Linked DNA regions of Homo sapiens: region 2 is linked to region 1. The links are contacts of gene promoters, found by promoter capture Hi-C in human tissues and cell types (Jung and others, 2019). All regions are on one chromosome and are shown on one strand. Each heading gives the region's core, a stretch centred on a gene start or on the middle of the fragment in contact. The rest is flanking DNA. Distances are from core to core; before and after follow the strand shown. Region 1 holds the start of ZSCAN2 (zinc finger and SCAN domain containing 2). Region 2 overlaps PDE8A (phosphodiesterase 8A).

Region 1 (3,136 bases), core at 280-2,779:
CTGAGAAAGAGTAGCAACTGCTGTGACAAAGGGATAATTTTCTTAATATACAAAGAGCTCTTACAAATAAATCCAATTTAAAAATGGGAAAAGGACCGGGCACGTGGCTCATGCCTGTAATCTCAGCACTTTGGGAGGCCAAGACGGCTGGATCACCTGAGGTCAGGAATTCAAGACCAGCCTGATCAACATGGTGAAATCTCTGTCTCTACTAAAAACACGCAAAATTAGCCAGGTGTGGTGGCGCACGCCGGTAATCCCAGCTACTTGGGAGGCTGAGGCAGGAGAATCACTTGATCCGAGATCGTGTCACTGCACTCCAGCCTGGGCGACAGAGGAGGAAAAAAAAAAGCAGTCATTTCATTGCAGGTGCCTCCAGTAATTGCTCAGTGCAAACATACATAACTATTCTATCACAGACCATTAAGGGTGTCTCTCTCCATTTTTAGATTTTCCGCTTGAGTTTCCAGGTAGTTTCTCACCTGTTTTCAAGCAGGGTTGGGGCAGCCGTTTCTTCAACAGCGCCAGCCGTAAAACACAAAGATGGAGGCCAACCTCCCACACCCGGGCACCCTCCCTTCCCCCATACTGAGATTGACAAGTAAGCAACCCGGTGATCAGTACTAAAATGGAGACGTCAGCCAGGTGCGGTGGCTCACACCTGTAATTCCAGCACTTTGGGAGGCTGAGGAGGAAGGATCGCTTGAGCCCAGGGGTTCGAGGTCAGCCTGGGCAACATATGGAAACCCTGTCTCTATGAAATGTAGATCCTGTCTGTGAGTGTGTGTGTATAAATAAATATATATATATATATACAAATACATACATATATATATTTAAAAAATAAAATGGGGACGTCCAACACGTGTACTAGGGGCGGTGTCTCTGCCTGGGGAGGTGGTGATGACAGGGCAGGCTCCACCCAGGAGAAGCTGGAAGAATGGGAGTTCCGCGGCAGAGGAGGCGGGGCAGGGCGTTCCTCCAAACACAGGAATACCACGTGCGAAAACAAAGGGGTGTGCGAAGACCGGGTGCATGTGTACAGCTGCAAACTGGGGGAAAGGCGCCAGGCTTGGGCGATGAGGATTTGTTCCCCCATGGATTCCCTTCCTGCCCAGGGTCCGCTCTCGCCGGTCGAGGGTGCCTAACAATACTCCTTGCCACAAGGTTCGCAGCCGAAAAGGTCCTTCAAGTCCGGCCATCCAACTTTCACTTTTTATAGACAAATATACAGAGGCCTTAGATAAGTGAAACGGCTTGTCTCGGGTTACAGCTCTAGCCAACACAGGGTTTCTGACGGTCAGTCTGCGGATTTTCCTGCCTCTGGTCCGCAGGCACTGCCCAGGCTGTCAGCCCCAAACCCTACTCCGGGGACCGCGGTCAGGTTCGTCTCCGGGCGGACTACATCTCCCACAATGCCTTGGGCCCAGCCTCCCTCCTGCCGCCCGGCTGGGTGCCGTCTCCACCAACAGAAAGGCAGAATTTCCAGGGCCGTTCTCGGCAGCCAATGAGCGCGGCGGTGGGCGGGCCTCTCCCGTCCATTGTTCTCGGTGCCCCACGGGCTTGAGCCGGGGTGAATCTGGAGGGGCCGGGCCGAGCCCGGGGGCGCTTTCGCACGCGAAGCAACCGCTAGAGCAGGACCTGGTCTCCCGAGAGGTGAGCCGGAGAGGCAGGCCTGGAGCCACGCGGACCCCGGGCAGTAGCCCGAGGTGAGGGAATAGTGGGCCTGGAGCCAGCTGCCGGCAGCTCTGCTGGGGGAGGGGCGTCGGGGTCGCGCTCCGTATCCTGCGGGCCCTGCAGCCCCGATTTACGCGCCGGCTCCGCTCAGCGAACCGTCCCGGACGCGTCTCCCTGGCGGAGAGCTCCTTGCCTCTCCTACCGAGAAGCGCAGGCTTTGGACGGGAAGGGGCATTCGACGACATCCCGCGCAGCGTACACGTTTTACAGATGGGGAAACTGAGGTTCAGAGGGGGCGTGTCGTGCCCCAAGTCAGACCGCAAATTAGCTGACCTGGCACACTTTTCCCAGGCTCCCAAGTAGGAAGAGTTCTCTTACACCATATGCCAGTATTTCTTCTAGTCATTTGAGTAAATACACGTTGAGAGCTTCGGTTTTCCCACTAGCTTTTATTTTTTGTCCTTTTTTTTTTAAGCTTTTGTCAGCTTTTCTCCCCTTTTCATTGAGGGAGGGTTGTTAGTTGAGTCTTTATGATGTAGTAATGATTTTTTAAAAAATTTTTTTATTTTTGTAGAGACTGGGTCTCACTCTGTTGCCCAGGTTGGTCATGAACTCCCGGCCTCAAGCCATCTTCCCTCCTCGGCCTCCCAAAGTGCTGGAATTACAGGCGTGAGCTACAGCGCTTGGGCTAAAAATAATTTTGTATTGCTTTTATAATATTTTAAGTCGTTTGCAATTCCACTGCTTTCAATATTTTGTAGGTGCCGTCCCGTTCTTTTTTCCTGTGAGTTCATTTTTTTTTTTTTTTTTTTTTGAGACGGAGTTTTGCTTTTGTTGCCCAGGCTGGAGTGCAATGGCCTGATCTCCGCTCACCGCATCCTCTGCCTCCCGGGTTCAAGCGATTCTCCTGCCTCAGCCTCCGGAGTAGCTGGGATTACGGGCATGCGCCACCACGCCTGGCTAATTTTGTTTTTAGTAGAGACGAGGTTTCTCCGTGTTGGTCAGGCTGGTCTCGATCTTCCGACCTCAGGTGATCCGCCCGCCTCAACCTGCCAAAGTGCTAGGATTACAGGTCTGAGCCACCGCGCCCGGCTGTGAGTTCATTTTTAAAGGGAATTGAGGACTTACTGTGTCTATGGTTTTTCTGCCCTGCTGATTTTGTGTTTATCCATTATTTTCCTATCAGAAGGATTATCTTAAATCATTAATGATTAATCTTTGTCAATATAATTTTTAAAATATTAAAAACATACAGCGTAATGTGCAGATCTTAAATTTCATATGTTTGCTCTTGTGCCGCCATTGCCAAATGAAGATATTGAAAATTTCCATCATCCCAGAAGGCTCCTTTGAGCCCCTTTCCTGTCATTACCACCTAAAGGTAGCCATTATTATAGCACAGTTTCTTTTCTTTTTTTTCCTTTTCTTTTCTTTTTTTTTTTTTTTTTTTGAGACAGAG
Region 2 (3,005 bases), core at 203-2,702, 480 kb after region 1:
CACCACTGCACTCCAGCCTGCACAGTGGGAGCAAGACTCCATCTCAAAAAAAAAAAGAAAGAATAAAAGCAAATGTATATGAATGGGCTGAATTCTTCCTTTAAAAGATAGGCTGTTAGATTGGGTTGAAAAAGTACAATTCTATAACAGTTACAAGACACTTAACATGATAAAAGGAGCTTAAGTAAAAGAACATAGAGGTAGCAAGTAAATGCAGACAAAAAGAACACAGATATTGATATTGATATTAATATCAGATGAGGTGGAATTTAAGATTTTAGTTTATATGTAAATACAGTTTTATATAAAAAGCACACATTAGGTTATTGATTATATAGCTGTGGCTTTCTTGTGTTTCCCCCTTTTTGGACAACCCCCACAACATACATACACATCAGCACCTACCTCCATTCCCTGACCTCTAGTAATTCCTGTTAAATTGTATGAGAACAGTTTACTTAGCCAGCAGTAAGGCGTCCCAGGTTGGAAGTCAGAAGTCCCCTATGGATCTTTATGTCATCCCTCCCTAAGCTGCTTGCTTTTGCAACTAAGGCCGCAAAACTGGCTATTCCTTTTAACAAGAACCTTAGAAGCTTCCACTTTCTAGTGAAACTTAGGGGATAGATTATTCCCTCTGCCTTGGGTTATTTGCTTACCTACAGCCGCATGAGGTCATTAAGGCTTGTGTTTGTTTGAGGTCTCTTTGAAAGTACATAGATGCACTGTTGGAAATTTGTGCCTGGTGACTGCCGTGTTTGAAATTCTGCCCAAGAAGTCTATCAGCATAGTTCTGTGGACCAGAAAGAGCATCCTGGTAGAAGGTCAAGTAAATCATGGTCCTTATATTTTCTTAGTATTACTGTGTTATCATGGAGCTAACTTGAAAAGTAACTGACACACACACTCTTGCTGCCTCAAGCCTGCACACCTTAATCAAAATCAAGGAACCCCCTGAAGACTTCAATGGAACCACTTTTAGGTGCACGCCCCTGTGAGGACACGTCCATGCAAAAAGCCCAAAAAGCTTTACAGTAGTCACTTTAGAAGCACCTGACTTAGGAAATGTAGAGGTAGTGGCAGGCTCTCCATTTTGTAGGTGAGGAATTCATGCGGTCAACCAGTCCTCAGAGACCACTAACTAATTAGTGCTAACTAATCTCATCCAGAGTCTCTTACTTTTGTGTGACAAAAGGATGCTCAGGTTACTGAGAAGAAGAGTTAGACCTGGAGGAAGGGGATTCTCCCAGTCATGGCTGTAGGCGGTGGTGCCAAGGCTTGAATCTGAAAGCTAACACCATAATGATATCTCTGGTACAGGGGATGGGGCATAGGAAAGGCCATGAGCTATTTTGTGTTTTAGCCATGTTTCAGGATTGAAAAGTAGGTGGAGGACCTGCTAGCTTCCTCAATTGGATTTGGCCATTGAGTCGGTAGACTCACTGCTGGGTGCACATTAGAATCACCTGAATAACATCCCTAGGGAGTCTGTTTCAGTTGGTCTGGGGAGGGGCCTGCATGCTGGTGTTTTTTCAAATTGCAGATAATTCTAATATGCAGCTGAGAGTTGAGAACCACTGGGAGAGGCCTAGCAAAGATGGGCTCAGGTCCTAGCCGTGGGTGTGATATGCTTTGGAGAAAGTGAGGTTAAGTTAGCTTAGAAGTCTAGGATTTGTAGTCCCAGCCCCTTTCGTGGAAGAAGGTTAAGGGAGAGGAGACTAACCGCTGTTTAAGCAGAGGGAATAAGCTTGCTTTCTGAGGATCCCTGGACCTGATTCTTCACCCTCCATGCCCTGTGGGATCCTTGGGACAGAAACAAAAGTTGGCAAGGGGCAGGAAAGATGAGATGTTTAGATAAAGAGAACAGTGTTTAAACACGCATAGCAAAACAAAAGTTTTGAGGGAGGGGGCAAACAGGAGCAAGATGCTGTACATTTGGTCACATGCTAGTTTTTTTTACCTTGATTTCTGCCTTTGGGGTAAAAAAGTTTGGTGGATACATAACATTCAGACCAATTAAAAAGTCTGATTGCATGCATGGGAATCCATTTGTGGAAATGGATAAATACACATTCCCTCCACAGCCCTCACATCCCCTCCACAGCCCTCACATCCCAGAATCTTACCTGCGGAGGAACTGAGGACCCCTGTCTATCTCAAGGCCCCGATTCCATGTCTCCTGGAGTGGCACAAGCACTATGTCAAGAAATCTCTTTTCCCTGTCCCTGCCCAATCAGAAGTGGGTTCCTGTCCAGTGTTTTTGGGTGTTCCCATGGGGTCTTGGCTGATGGAGGTGTGGACAGCAGGTCTAGCATACTCCTCCCTTCTCAGTCGGTGGGAGCTGGCAGGCATGTCACCTCTGTCAGACCTCTGGGTAAGAAAGGGGCTCTGTTTTGGCCTATAGGTATAAGGTTTATCATGCTCCTGGTCAACAGGTCTTGCCTTCCCCTGTGGGGGTGACAGTAGCTGTTCTTTACATTTATGCAGCAGTTTGTACTTAAAATGCTTTCTCCCATCATGTCTTTTTATTCTCGGTGACCTTCATTGGGTAGGAACAGTATTATTTTTCTTGCTTTACAGTTGAGGAAACAGGCTCAGGAATGTTAGGTGCCTCATATACAATCATACAGCTTTTAAGGCACGAACCAAGGGCTAGATTTTTAGGTTGCTTGACACCCAGACAAGACCCTGATCACAGTTCAGACGGGTCATTTGCGTTCACCGTGGTAGTAGAAGGAACTCTTTAAGGGGACCCCTGTCCCAGATTGGTCTGGCTGGGGCTTATAGATAGTGATATGCAGAGGCTCTGCCTCTTAGGCATCAGCTTCCTCTTCAGCCAGGTAGAGTATTGTCCACTTATTGTGCAGGTAAAAAGCAAGGAGCTCTTTAGAAATGGGGGAGTAATGTTCACAAATATTTTTACATTTGAATAGAACTATATGACAGAACACAGTGGCTGCTAAGATGTCTTTATGGAGTATTTAATTTGATGGTGGAATGGGTCCATC

Evidence for each region. Contacts are between HindIII fragments. The study calls those that stand out against the background at their distance.
Region 2: a fragment that was not itself captured here is called in contact with the fragment with the promoter of ZSCAN2 in region 1 in 2 of the 25 tissues and cell types used here (lymphoblastoid cells and thymus).

The regions. Positions count from the first base shown.
Region 1 is chr15:84,599,480-84,602,615 of GRCh38, forward strand. ZSCAN2 (zinc finger and SCAN domain containing 2) reads left to right here and starts at 1,530. Exons shown (of 3, transcript NM_181877.4): 1 at 1,530-1,656. It overlaps LOC105370947 (a long non-coding RNA gene), which reads right to left. Exons shown (of 4, transcript NR_186225.1): 4 at 1-324. RefSeq lists an enhancer at 1,378-1,427 and a silencer at 1,748-1,897. The HindIII fragment of the contact is 21,972 bases long and covers 1-3,136 here.
Region 2 is chr15:85,079,869-85,082,873 of GRCh38, forward strand. All of the region lies in intron 5 of PDE8A (phosphodiesterase 8A), which reads left to right. Among named protein-coding and RNA genes, the nearest start is that of PDE8A, 100 kb to the left of the region's middle. The HindIII fragment of the contact is 5,315 bases long and covers 1-3,005 here.